3 separate regions of the Homo sapiens genome follow, and all the other regions are linked to region 2. Evidence: promoter capture Hi-C in 16 types of primary human blood cells and fetal thymus (Javierre and others, 2016). All regions are on one chromosome and are shown on one strand. Each heading gives the region's core, a stretch centred on a gene start or on the middle of the fragment in contact. The rest is flanking DNA. Distances are from core to core; before and after follow the strand shown.

Region 1 (4,689 bases), core at 844-3,343, 130 kb before region 2:
TGACATTTTATGTGCTGCTGCAAGCAGGGACAGACGGATTGAGTGTTTTGCTAGGCTACAAGAAGTGGTGGGACTTACAGGTCTCGCTATAGCACCAGATAAAATCCATACTACACCCTATCATTACCTGGGAATGAGGGTACAGGAGAAAACAGTAAAGCCTCAAAAGGAGGAAATTCGTAAAGAGTCCTTAAAAACCTTAAATGATTTCCAAAAATTATTAGGGGACGTTAATTGGATAAGACCTACTTTAGGAATTCCCACCTAAGCAATGTCTAAACTGTTTGCTTTGCTGAGATGGGATCCAAATTCATGTAGCAAAAGAACTCTGATGCCTGCTGCAGCTGAAGAGTTACAAATGATTGAGGAAAAAATTCAAAGTGCTCAAGTCCGTAGAAGAGATCCTAGTGTTCCATTACAGCTCTTAGTGTTCCCTACTCTCCATTCTCCTATAGGAGTGATTGTTCAAAATGTTGACTTAGTTAAATTGTCCTTTTTAACGCACAGTACGACTAGAACTTTCTCAATTTATTTAGATCAAATAGCTATTCTTATAGGCCAAATACAACTGAGAATAGTCAGACTCATTGGCACCGATCGAGATAAAAATGTAGTTCCTTTAAACAAAGCACAGGTTCGACAAGCCTTTATTAATTCGTCAGAATGGCAGTCAAATCTGGCTGATTTTGTTGGCAGTATAGATATTCATTACCCTAAAACTAAAATGTTTCAGTTCCTAAAAATTGACTACCTAAATTTTACCCAAAATAACTAGTTCCATTCCTTTGGAGGGAGCCGTAACTATCTTTACTGATGGCTCTCAGAATGGAAAAGCAGCTTATACAGGACCGGAAGAAAAGATTATTCAAACTCAGTTTCATTCTGCACAAAGAGCTGAGCTACAAGCAGTTATATCTGTATTGGAAGATTGTAATCAACCTGTTAATATAATCTCTGACTCTGCTTACGTATTCCAAGCTGCCAAAATGGTAAAAACAGCTTTAGTAAAACATATTTCTGATGATCAGTTAAATTTCTTGTTTAGTTCACTTCAACAAGCAGTTAGGACTCAAAATTTTCCCTTTTATATTACACATATTTAGGCTCACACAAACTTACCAGGACCTTTAACCCTATTAAATAATCAAGCAAATTTATTAGTGACGCCTGTTCTAACAGTGTCCGGCCTCTGAGCCCAAGCTAAGCCATCATATCCCCTATGACCTGCACGTATACATCCAGATGCCCTGAAGCAACTGAAGAATCACAAAAGACGTGAAAATGGCTGGTTTCTGCCTTAACTGATGACATTACCTTGTGAAATTCCTTCTCCTGGCTCAGAAGCTCCCCTACTGAGCACCTTGCAACCCCCGCCCCTGCCCGCCAGAGAACAACCCCCTTTGACTGTAATTTTCCACTACCTACCCAAATCCTATAAAAGGGCCCCACCCCTATCTCCCTTCGCTGACTCTCTTTTCGGACTCAGCCCACCTGCACCCAGGTGAAATAAACAGCCTTGTTGCTCACACAAAGCCTGTTTGGTGGTCTCTTCACACAGACGCGAACAAAAGCTCAAAACTTCCATTCCCTAATTCATGTAAATGCTGCTGGATTAAAAAATAAATATTCATTTACCTGGAAACAAGCTAAAAATATAGTACAACATCCTCAGTGCCAAGTGCTACAGCTACCCACCCAAAAACCTGAAGGTAACCCTAGGGGGCTTCAACCAAATGCAGTGTGGCAAATGGACATGACTCATGTCCCATCATTCGGAAAACTTTCTTTCGTACATGTTACTGTTAATACTTTTTCTCGGTTTATCTGGGCTACACGCCAAACTGGAGAAAGCACAGCTCACGTAAAACGACATTTATTATCTTGTTTTGCAGTCATGGGTGTGCCACAGAAAGGAAAAATGGTCTGGTGGAAGGATACCAGAACCAAAACTTGGAAATTAAGAAAAAGTATTACTTGGGGGAGGGGTTTTCCTTGTGTTTCACCAAGAGACAATCAAACACTCATTTGGATACCCAATAGACATTTAAAATTCTACAATGAACCCTACACCGACCGGTCAGAAAAAAGGAAAGAATCAAAAGAGAAAGAAGACCGGTCCCTTCGACCTGTCTTTTCGGGAGCTGAGGAAAATGGTGAAGCTGAGCGTCTCGGAGAAAAAACAGAAGACGGAGAAGACTCGCTAGGCTACACCACTGACATGGGGACAGATAAAGAAGCTGACTCAATTGGCAGAGGACACCCTAAAGGAGAAACAACTAGCGATTACACCGGGTAATATGATCTTGGCTGCCTTGATGGTAATCACCACGGCGGTAAGTCTCTCTGCTGTTTCAGCTAAGCAAAATTTTACTACTGGGCTTATGTTCCATTTCCTCCTTTGATTAGACCTGTCACTTGGATGGACTCCCCTACTGAAGTTTATACAAATGGTAGTATCTGGATGCCTGGGCCGACTTATGATAGCTGTCCTGCATAGCCTGAGGAGGAGGGCATGTTAATGAATGGGATAATTGGGTATAAATACCCTCCAGTTTGTTTAGGAATTGCTCCTGGATGTTTGCCATTACAAATACAAAGTTGGATGGTCTACGTACCTCCTCATAATCGTTCTCAACCTAGTTATCACGTAGTGAGTGGAATGTCTTTTCAACCCATCAGGACTGTAAAAACTTAAGGGGATAGTTATTATCAGTCAAATATAAAAGTCCAAAATTGCAAGCCTAAGGGATTGGCTTGCCCTAAAAGGAATCCAGAATGGTCAGAAAAATGAGAAATTCTTACTTGGGAGGTTTGTGTGGCAGATAATGCGGTAGTTTTGCGAAATGGTTCTCATGGGGTCATTATAGACTGGGCTCCTAAGGAATCTTTTGCTAGAAATTGCACCGGACAAAACGCTGGGTGCGCTGGGGACTCCTTTATGATCGAATATAGAAATGATCCATATAATCCCCCCACTTTAGTTAGAAGATTTGAATCAACATACCCATTAAAGTGGGAAGATAAAGATACTGCTCCCCCTCCACCAAAAATTAGTCCGGTCGTGGGTCTGGAACATCCAGAATTGTGGAAGTTGCTTATGGCGACCTCCGGAATGAGAGTGTGGAAAGGGGAAGCGTCCTGGGGAACAAAAGGTAATAAGCCACTCTTTACTATGCCTTCTCCCTCTGCCCACTCCCCCGCCCCCCGAAAGGAAGACCTCCAGGTGACGCTCCCTGAGGACTCGGGCCAGGTGCTGCTGCTGCGTTTGCACAAGGCGTCCCCCGCCTCCCCTCCCCTCTGCCACCCCTCCCCCCGCCGGCCTCCCCGCCTCCCCCACCTCACCCCTACCCCCTCCGCCCCCCGCCCCCCGCCACGCTGCCTCGCCCCCTCTAGGTCCGGCCCAGACTCCGGGGTCTGCCGCTGGGTCCAGCTGAGGCTGCTGGGGACCCCCTCCGCTCCCCCTTACCAGTGGCTGGAGGGGGCAGGCAAAGGGCAGGGCCGGGGCTGCAGGAGGGGCATGGAGGGAGCGAGGGGGACCAGGGTGGTCATGGGTCAGGGGAGGGGGGCTGGTGTGGACACAGTGGGGAGGGGGGAGGCAGAAAGGTGACATGAGGGGCACGGGAAGGAGGAGGTGGGATGGTTGGGAGGAACCATACTCAGGGAGGGGAGGATGGAAGATAAGTGGGGGAGGGGAGCACCGGCTCTGACAAGAGGATTAGGTGGGGAAGTTGAGTGGTGGATCAGTGAGTGGAAGAGGGAGAAGCTGGTGGAAAGAGAACAGGCCTGTGAAGCAGAGGGGTTGGGGGCAGAACATCGTGGCCCAGTATTGGGGGTGGTGGGTGTAGCTATGTCTTCTCTTTCCTCTTCCCACCGACTTTACTCTTTGGTCCCCTCTGGCCTGGGCTGTTGAGTTGGGGCTCAGTGAACGGATGGGGACGACCTCAGGTGCTGAAGCAGGTGCTGAAGCAGGGTCTGCCGTGGGGGGAAGGTGGAGTGGGCAGGGCTTCTCCATCCCTGGGGGAAGAGGCAAAGCAGACGCAGAGGCCAGGGGCTGGCCAACACCCTGGTTCAAAGATGCTCCCACCCCAGGTCTGGGGAGAGGAGGGGAGAGGCTGGGGGCTAAGATCTCCCTTTCTGCACCTGGATCCCCTCCACAGCCTGGGCCATTCTGTCTTTGTTTCTGCAGGAACACTGCCCTGAAACTGCAGGACTGCTGGGCAGCCAGGGGTCTGGAAAAGGGATCAGTGTACCTTCATCTTCCCCACACCAAGGTGTCAGGTCCGCAGGGTGAGGGAGGAAGGGCGAGGTGGCTGCAGCAGGGCAAGAGGGTCCTTGGTGGCAACCTTGTGGGACTGAGAACCAGAAAGCCAAAATTAGAACATTCTGGAAATCACAGGACTTGTTCTGTGCTGCCACCAGTTCCTACCTGTCCTTTGAAGAAGCTCACTTCTGCCCTGAGAATGTGCACGTCCTGCCATTGTGCTCGGCTCACTGCAACCTCTGCCTCCTGGGTTCAAGCGATTCTCCTGCCTCAGCCTCCTGAGTAGCTGGGACTACAGGCACCCACTACCACACCTGGCTAATTTTTGTATTTTTAGGAGAGACGGGGTTTCACCATGTTGGTCAGGCTGGTCTCGAACTCCTGACCTCCTGATCTGCCCACCTCAGCCTCCCAAAGTGTTGGGATTA
Region 2 (4,572 bases), core at 1,826-4,325:
CTCTGCAATTCAGCTGACCTGGCCAAGGAAACAAGATCCTAAGCGTCTTTCCGGCGGCGCCGTGGCTTAGTTGGTTAAAGCGCCTGTCTAGTAAACAGGAGATCCTGGGTTCGAATCCCAGCGGTGCCTCCGTGTTTCCCCCACGCTTTTGCCAACATTAAACATTGTGAGGACAGTTGCAGAAACTCATAACTTCCATCCTACATGGTTTACTCACGTACCCATCTATCCTCTCCCGGTGCATCTGCCACACGCTGTTGGGTTTTTGCTCTTCGTGCACATGGTACTTGCGCCTCGACCTGCAGTTACACCAGTCGCATCATCTGTACTTGCCAGTACTGTCTGTTACTCGTCTAGGTGCTCAGTTAGTCAGTGTTTGTGTTCTGTTTTCATTTCTCATAAAGCAGTCCCACAACTGAAGGTTTTTCCCGAGAGAACTGAACAGTATTGTAACTAAATAGATTTATTTCAAGCTTTTCGTAGCAACTGGCCGGTTAGCTCAGTTGGTTAGAGCGTGGTGCTAATAACGCCAAGGTCGCGGGTTCGATCCCCGTACGGGCCAGGATTGAAACTTTTCGAAAGTACGATTACTGCACTCCGTTTTAGAGCCAAGTAACGTCTCTGGGGAAAAACAGCGCCACATTTCCAATCCCAGAACAGGGAGCGTATTGGAGCGCATTCTAAAGTGGGCGTGTCTTGAGAGGAAGGGATTGAGAGAAACCGGGGTTGTTTCGTGATCTTTGCTTCTACATCTTATGGCCACAATATATGGCTCCTGAACTTACTGTGTGAACTGTAAACAAAAGGCTTTGGGACAAATTTGTCTCAAACCACGTGGCACTGATCTGCAGAGTGTGGGAAATGGTCAGGAATAGAGCTGACAAGTGTTCCCAGTCTTCCCCCAGAGGTAAGATGTCCGTCCAATCCACCCAGCCCCTGCCTATTCATGAGGACCTGAGAAGACAATTTCTTCCCCTTCTCTTCTAGAGCATCTTTTTTACGTTTCTGTGGTTACCGGATCTCTGGGCCCCTGTGAGTGATTATCTGTGTCCTCACATTTCCCCTCAGACCAGATGCTTAAGAGCAAGAACCATATCTTTCCCCACGGAGCCTGAGACATCTCCACCCCCACCCCACTCCCAGCACCAGCCCCAAGGGAGCTGCGTGAACAACACCGACCCTCATTCCCATTCCTTTGGCTTATTAATCACTGCAACCCCACACAGACTCAGCCTCAGCCTTCGCAGCAGCAGCACTTTAATTCCACAAAAACTCAGAAAGCCAAAACTGATTAGAACACTCCACAACAGGTGAGCTTCAAAACCAGCAACATTCTACCTGAACCCTGAGAGCAGTGAGACGCCTCCCACCTCACCCCCTCCGCCGTGCAACCCATTCCTCCTAGCTGCACGCCGGTTCTGGCTGGGGAAGTGGTATGGTAGAGGGCCAGAGGGCAGAAGCAGAAGGCTCTCCATCAGCAGGGGTGCATCTTTGCCTGCGGGGTGTTTGGCCAAGGACGGCACAAGCTCCCACAGCCCCTGGCACCTGAGATGTGGCCACTGGAGTCAGGATAGCCACAGTGGGGGCTGGGGCTTCCTCTGTCCCTTTCTCCTGATTACATGTGGGAGTCACGTCCTCACCTTCAAGCAGACCTAAAGCCCCGTGTTCCCAGGGCTGGTGCTCTAGCTAGGGAGGAGAGTTGGGAAGAACAGGGTAGCTACAGATGGCCAACTGAATACAAGCAGAGCAACATCCCTTCCCACCAGGAGAGCCGTTAGAACTTCCCCACATACACCAGCCTAAGGCCCAGCGAGTGGGCACGGGCCAGCTGAACGCATCTGGAAGAGCCTCCAACACACAGGCCTCCCCTCAGTGGGCACTTCCCACCAGGACTCCCTGAAGAGTCCTTAGGGTCCTGCTGGGCCCTGCCCTGGCCAGGACCGGCCTCTCCTGTCCTCCTGGTCACTTGCACAGGGCCTCCAACACCTCCAGAGTACGTCGGATATCCCGGACTTGGCGCGCCAGCCCCTGAACCGGCTGCAGAGCCCGCTCCAGCTCCTCGCAGCGCGCCAGCAGGGTGTACATGCCCTTGATGCTCATGTCCACGGCTTCACCTAAGGAGTCCACAGCATCGCGGTAGGTCTGGATGCAACCCACGCTCAGCGCCGTCAGCTCCTGCACCGCGCCACCCAGACCGCGAAGCAGACGGTCCACCCGGCCTCCCAGCTCCCGACTCAACCGCTCCAGATCCCGCAGCACCTCGGGGTCGATTGGGGGAATGGCCGGTGTGGGTGTGGGTGCAGGCGCTGGGCAGGGCCGCGCAGGGGCAGAAGGCGGGGGTGGAGGCGCGCCGCTCAGACGGATCTTGAGTTGCAGGTTGTTGGCGACAAAGTGGGTAAGGTCGCCGTGGCGGCTCACTGTGCCTTCGAGCTCCAGGGGACTGGAGATGGTGGCGCGGCGTCCGCCGCCCGCGCCGGACTCGGCACTCCCTGAGGACCCGGCGCCACCGCACGCCTCGCTCAGCCCGTCCAGGCTGCGGCTGTCCTGAAGACGGCTGGAGAACGAGCGGCCGGCTCTGCTGCCCGCGGCCGCCTCCTCGTCGTTGTCTTCCTCCTCCTGCTGCTCAACATCCATCCCGCCGCCTGGTCCCCCTCGACGGCAGTCCCTCCCGGAGGAGGGCTTGCCCTCGGGCGGCGCCGGGTTCTTGTGCCGGGAGGACAGGGAAGGTTCGTGCTCTGCACCCGGCGCCCCCCTGCGGCTCCCGGCCCCAGACAGCGTCCCTTGAGGGCCGGGCTCGTTCTCCAGAGCCTCCCGTTCCGGCCGGTGGACGACGCCGCAGCTTGACGTCTTCGGGGACGTCCTGGGGTGGCGGTTCGCGCCCCCAACGTTCTCGGTCTCTTCCTCCCCGGACACCCGGAGGCCTGCGGGCGGCTCAGAGGACGTTCGGCCCGGCCCGCCGCCAAAGACTAGGGCCTGATGTTCCGCTACAGCCAGAAGGTCCGTCTCGGGCCCGGGCCGCCCCCGAGACGACTCCATACTGCAGGTGGGGGCCGCAACGGAGGAATTGGTTCGCCCCGGCTCCGGAGGCAGTGGCTGCGCCTTTAAGGGGCGTTGGTAGAGGCGAGCCGATTGGCAGCGGCTGACAATGGTAAGGACAGGAAAAGCATTTTGATTGGTCGCGGCGACCAGGAAGTCCCGGAAGAAGAGCTGTTACTGCACAGCGGAACACACGTGAACGCCGGCAGGGTGGAGAGAAGGAGGTGACAGCTGCTCCCGTCGCCCCGCCCTTTCTGAAAGCTGATGGGGCAGATCTTAAAGACCAAGGTCCTCAAATTCCTGAGTCCCGAGGGGTGGGGCTCAGATCCTTTCTGCCTGTAATTGTACCCCCCCCAACAGTGATTGCTTAGCAAAAATACCAAGTGGGGAGCCCACTTGGGGTTCCTAGAGAGGTTCTTAGGATGAAAATGGCATATCCTTCTTGGACCATCAGGGTTGAACCTAGTTGACTAAAAAGAAGGAAACCAGAAGTCCAGCATGAGCATGAATGGTTTGCTCTATCTTTCTTGGTTAAGAGACCTAACCACTGAACTGCTCAGAGCGACCCACTGTGGTCAAGGCAGCGGCCTCTGGGCTTTCCTATGCGTTTGTCACTCTTGTTCTGTGTCTCTTGCCCCTTTCACACTGAGGGGTCTCGCCCCTTGGAGGATGGCGTGTGATTTTGCCACGAGGTAAAATATTCAACAAATGAAATGATCACAAATTTTGATATGTGCTATACAGGAAATAAAGTGTTATGATTGAGAATATAACTGAGCAGGCACTAGTTTAGGTAAGGGGTCAGGAAAATACCTCTTTGGTGAGACTTTTAACTAAAAAGAACCAAAAAGACGCAGCCACCCCCCAGGCAGAGAGAAGAAAACTTGAGCTACCTCTCAGAGACAAAGAAGTCTTGACGTATTCAAGAAACTGAGGTGAGGGGGCAGGAGACATTGGGACTAAAACAAAATCAGCAAGATAAGGGGAAGGATTTCGAGCCAAGGAGCTGAACAGGCAGCAGGGGCCACGTCATGCAGGGGGCCTTGTAGTTCCTGTTAGGGAATGGAGATTTCCTCTAAATGCAATGGTGCAGCGACATTGGAAAGGTTGTACATTGCAACACATAGCCAAAGCTTGGAGACATCAGTATTTTTATTTATTTATTTATTTATTTATTTATTTATTTATTTATGTATTTAGAGACAGAGTCCCACTCCGTCACCCAGGCTGGAGTGCAGTGGCGCGATCTCGGCTCACTGCAACCTCCGCCTCCTGGGTTCACGCGATTCTCCTAACTCAGTCTCCCGGGTAGCTGGGATTACAAGCGCCCGCCACCACGCCCGGCTAATTTTGTATTTTTAGTAGAGATGGGGTTTCACCATGTTGGCCAGGCTGGTCTTGAACTACTGGCCTCAAGTGATCCACCCGCCTCGGCCTCCCAAAGTGCTAGCATGACAGGCGTGAGCCACCGTGCCCGGCCAGACATCAGTATTTAATAAAAACAGTTTGCTAACTCTCCTTAGCTGACAAAGGATG
Region 3 (4,362 bases), core at 1,507-4,006, 110 kb after region 2:
TCAGGGCTGGGCATGGTGGCTCAGGCCTGTAATCCCAGCACTTTGGGAGGCTGAGGTCAGCGGATCATGAGGTCGAGAGATCGAGACCATCCTGCCCAACATGGTGAACCCTCATCTCTACTAAAAAAAAAAAATACAAAAATTGGCCGGGTGTGGTGGCTCATGCCTGTAATCTCAGCACTTTGGGAGGCCGAGGAGGGCGGATCACCAGGTCATGAGGTCGAGACCATCCTGGCTAACACAATGAAACCCCATCTCTACTAAAAATACAAAAAATTAGCCAGGCGTGGTGGCAGGTGCCTGTAGTCCCAGCTACTAGGGAGGCTGAGGCAGGAAAATGGCATGAACCCAGGAGGCGGAGCTTGCAGTGAGCCGAGATCGCGTCACTGCACTCCAGCCTGGGCGACAGAGTGAGACTCTGTCTCAAAAAAAAAAAAAAAAATTGAGGCCGGATGCAGTGGCTCATGCTTGTAATCCCAGCACTTTGGGAGGCCGAGGTGGGTGGATCACCTAAGGCCAGGAGTTCGAGACCAGCCTGGTCAACCTGGTGAAACCCCATTTCTACTAAAAATACAAAAATTAGCTGGGTGTGGTGGCGGGCACCTGTAATCCCAGCTACTCGGGAGGCTGAAGCAGGAGAATCACTTCAACCCAGGAGGCGGAGTTTGCAGCGAGCCGAGATCGCACCACTGCACTCCAGCTGGGCAACAGAGCTAGACTCCGTCTCAAAAAACAACAACAACAACAACAACAAAACAAACAAACAAAAAAAACCCAAAAATGTATAATTAGGCCCAAGGTCACCTAGATTTTCTTTTATGTTTTCTTCTAGAAGCTTTATAGTTTTACTTTTTACATTTAGGTCTATGATCCATTTTGAGTTAATTTTTGTAAATTATGTGAGGTCTGGGTTTGGTTTCTTCTCATCCTCCTCTCTCTTTTCTTCTTTCTTCTTTCCTCCTCCTCCTCCTTCGTCGTCTTCTTCCTCTTCCTCCTCTTCTTCTCCTTCTTCTTCTTTTTCTCCTTCTTCTTTCTTCTTCTTCCTTTGGTCCTTTGTAAAAAATCTGTTTTCTATATTTGTGTGGCTCGATTTCTGTGCCCTCACTTCTGTTCCCTTGATCTGTGTGTCTAGCCTTTGACCAATATCATGCTGTCTTGATTTATTGTAGGCTGTTACCATTTTTTCCTGGATGTGAATGTCATGAATCAGATTTGAGAGGAGTTGCATAGGGAACGTAAAAGTCCCCAGGTGTCTGAAAGAAGGGGTGGTAACATAGAGAGGGAGCGAGAAAGACGGGGAGGCTTGGAGGGCAGGGGGCTGTGTCTTTCTTGCCTCTTCCTTGGTAGCCTAGACACTGATGGGTTCCTTTTGGCTGCTGAGCGCGCACCCGAAGTGCTCAAACTCCACCTAGTGGTGGTGAGGAAGGATCGTCTCTGTGTATCCTCACCTGGGCCAAAACCTGTATAAATTCCCAGAGCAGGCCAGCTTTTCCTTACTGCTTCTTCCTGATTTATCCCCCATCACAGGCAGGCTACCTACATTAACAGCTTTGCAGACAGAAATGAGGCCCAGGTGTTCTGTGCTCCATGAAAGAGTCTACTGGACTTCCAAGTCCTGGCCCTACCGGAGGGAGCTGGACTCAACACTTCTTTTATTAGAAGCTCCCTTTATAAGGGATTGTTTTGTTGTAAGTGACAGAAATCCAACTCAAACTAGCTTACAAAAAGGGAACTCATTGACTCACACAACTGAAAGCTCCAGACACACACATGACTTCAGGCCAGCAGAATCAGGCACTCAAATCTGTCTCTCTCCACCTCTGCCATGTATCGGTTTTATTCTCAGGCCACCTCACTGATGGCCACTAGCAGCTGCAGGCCCATATTCCACCAGCTTAGCATCCTCAGTGGAAATGTAACTGCCCAGTGGGCTCTTCCTGTCCTCTGCACAAATAAAGACCACGGCATTGCAGTAAAGAAAGAGTTTAATTGACACGAGGCCGGCCATGCCACATGCAAAATTGATTATTACTCAAGTCAATCTCCCTGAAAATTCAGAGATCAGGGTTTTTGATAATTTGGTGGGTAGGGGGTCAGAAAGTGGGGAGTGCTAATTGGTTAGGTGGGAGACGAAATCACAGGGAGTTGAAACTCTCCTCTTTCACTGGGTCGGTTCCTGGGTGGGGGCCACAAGAACAGATGAACCAGTTTATTGATCCGGGTGTTGCCAGATGATGCTTTGAGTGCAGGGTCTGCAAAATATCACAAGCACTCATCTTAGGTTTTACAAGAATGATGTTATCCCCAGGAGCAATTTGGGGAGGTTCAGAATCTTGCAGCCTCCAGCTGCATGACTCCTAAACCAAATCTTATTTATTTATTTTTTTTTTGAGACGGAGTATCGCTTTGTCACCCAGGCTGGAGTGTAATGGCATGGTCTCTGATCACTGCAACCTCTGTCTCCTGGGTTCAAGCGATTCTCCTGTCTCAGCCTCCCGAGTAGCTGGGACTACAGGCGTGCGCCACCACACCCGGCTAATATTTTGTATTTTTAGTAGAGACAGGGTTTCACCATGTTGGCCAGGCTGGCCTTGAACTCCTGACCTCGTGATCTGCCAACCTCGGCCTCCCAAAGTGCTGGGATTACAGGCATAAGCCACTGTGCCCAGCCGAAACGGGAGTTTTATTACATTATTACTCAAATCAGTCTCCCCAAGCAGAATCAGTTTTTTGTTTGTTTGTTTGTTTGTTTGTTTGTTTTTGAGACGGAGTCTCGCTCTGTCGCCCAGGCTGGAGTGCAATGGCGCCATCTTGGCTCACTGCAAGCTCCGCCTCCCGGGTTCACGCCATTCTCCTGCCTCAGCCTCCCCAGTAGCTGGGCCTACAGGCCCCCGCCACCACGCCCGGCTAATTTTTTGTACTTTTAGTAGAGACGGGGTTTCACCGTGTTAGCCAGGATGGTCTCGATCTCCTGACGTCGTGATCTGCCCGCCTCAGCCTCCCAAAGTGCTGGGATTAGAGGCTTGAGCCACCGCACCCGGCTACCAGAATCAGAGTTTTTAAAGATCATTTGGCGGGTAGGGACTTGGGAAGTGGGGAGTGCTGATTGGTCAGGTTGGAGATGGAATTGCAGGGGGTCGAAGTGAGGTTTTCTTGCTGTCTTCTGTTCCTGGGTGTGATGACAGAACAGGTGGTGCCAGATTAAGGTCTGGGTGGTATCAGCTGATTCATAGAGCCAGCGGCTGCATGACCCCCAAACTAATTTATAATCTTGTAGCTAATCTGTCAATTTGTTAGTCCTGCAAAGGCAGACTGGTCCCCAGGCAAGAAGGGGGTCTTTTCAGTTAAGGACTATTAACAATTTTGTTTCAGAGTCAAACCATGAACTGAATTCCTTCCCAAAGTTAGTTCAGCCTACGCTGAGGAATGAACAAGGACAGCTTAAAGATTAGAAGCAACATGGAACTGGTGAGGTCTGATTTCTTTCACTGTCATAATTTCCTCAGTTATAACTTTACAAAGGCGATTTTAAGACCCTGTCTCAAAAACAAACAAACAAACAAACAAAAACTATCGTGATCCACTCCCCCTACTCTGCTCTGAAACCTTCAGGGCCTGTCTGCCCGGTGTGATTGCTCACGATATGGCCTCCATGTGTCCCTCTTTTCATTTCAGATCAGTTTGTTTCCCTTTCACGGTTCTCCAGACGTGCCTACTTTCCTCTTCGCTGTGCCTGCGCTTCCCTGGATTCCCACAATGCTCCTTCATGCCCTGCCTCTTGGCTTGGCTAAACCCCTCTGCCTGATTTTAAATGAACAGTCAAAGTGCCTCTTCTCCCTGACACCCACTTTTTCCAACCAACAGGTCAATGACATGAGGAAGACCGAAGGAGGCTGCTGGGTGTGGACACAAAGAGATGGAGCAGACGCTTATGGGCTCCTTCATCCTTCCAGAACAGACTCTCCAAGCAAAGTCTAAACCAGTCACATTGAAGCTCCTAGGGTTACTTCATTAATAATATTTCAGGCCGGGCGTGGTGGCTCACGCCTGTAATCCCAGCACTTTGGGAGCCTGAGGCGGGAGGATCACAAGATTAGGAGTTCAAGACCAGCCTGGCCAATATGGTGAAATCCCGTCTCTACAAAAAGTTAGCCAGGCGTGGTGGCGGGCGCCTGTAGTCCCAGCTACTCGGGAGGCTGAGGCAGGAGAATGGCTTGAGCCCAGGAGGCGGAGGTTGCAGTGAGCCGAGATTGCACCACTACACTCCAGCCTGGGCAACAGAGCAAGACTCTGTCTCAAATAATAATAATAATAATAATACTTCAAAAAGACTTCAAATTGAAGTCTTTTTTTTTTTTTTTT

What was found. Contacts are between HindIII fragments. The CHiCAGO score rates a contact against its expected background, and 5 or more counts as called.
Region 1: a fragment that was not itself captured here is called in contact with the fragment with the promoter of BORCS6 in region 2 in 1 of 17 cell types (erythroblasts); the score reaches 6.3 in erythroblasts.
Region 3: a fragment that was not itself captured here is called in contact with the fragment with the promoter of BORCS6 in region 2 in 11 of 17 cell types (non-activated CD4 T cells, naive B cells, naive CD4 T cells and 8 more); the score reaches 11.6 in non-activated CD4 T cells.

What each region holds. Positions count from the first base shown.
Region 1 is chr17:8,060,728-8,065,416 of GRCh38, forward strand. No RefSeq gene overlaps it. Among named protein-coding and RNA genes, the nearest start is that of ALOX15B, 24 kb to the left of the region's middle. RefSeq lists an enhancer at 3,620-4,121. The HindIII fragment of the contact is 6,181 bases long and covers 1-4,689 here.
Region 2 is chr17:8,187,105-8,191,676 of GRCh38, forward strand. BORCS6 (BLOC-1 related complex subunit 6) reads right to left here and starts at 3,076. Exons shown (of 1, transcript NM_017622.3): 1 at 1,241-3,076. The coding sequence starts at 3,036. The coding sequence ends at 1,963. It overlaps LOC124903913 (a long non-coding RNA gene), which reads right to left. Exons shown (of 2, transcript XR_007065604.1): 2 at 4,171-4,572. It overlaps TRT-AGT1-1 (tRNA-Thr (anticodon AGT) 1-1), which reads left to right and starts at 56; the gene lies at 56-129. It overlaps TRI-AAT5-5 (tRNA-Ile (anticodon AAT) 5-5), which reads left to right and starts at 489; the gene lies at 489-562. RefSeq lists silencers at 85-194, 2,328-2,377, 2,448-2,507, 2,708-2,757 and enhancers at 1,055-1,104, 2,243-2,889, 2,868-3,147, 2,890-3,535. The HindIII fragment of the contact is 3,696 bases long and covers 472-4,167 here.
Region 3 is chr17:8,299,421-8,303,782 of GRCh38, forward strand. It overlaps LOC124903915 (a long non-coding RNA gene), which reads right to left. Exons shown (of 2, transcript XR_007065606.1): 2 at 1,968-2,252. Among named protein-coding and RNA genes, the nearest start is that of SLC25A35, 6.2 kb to the left of the region's middle. The HindIII fragment of the contact is 3,846 bases long and covers 834-4,362 here.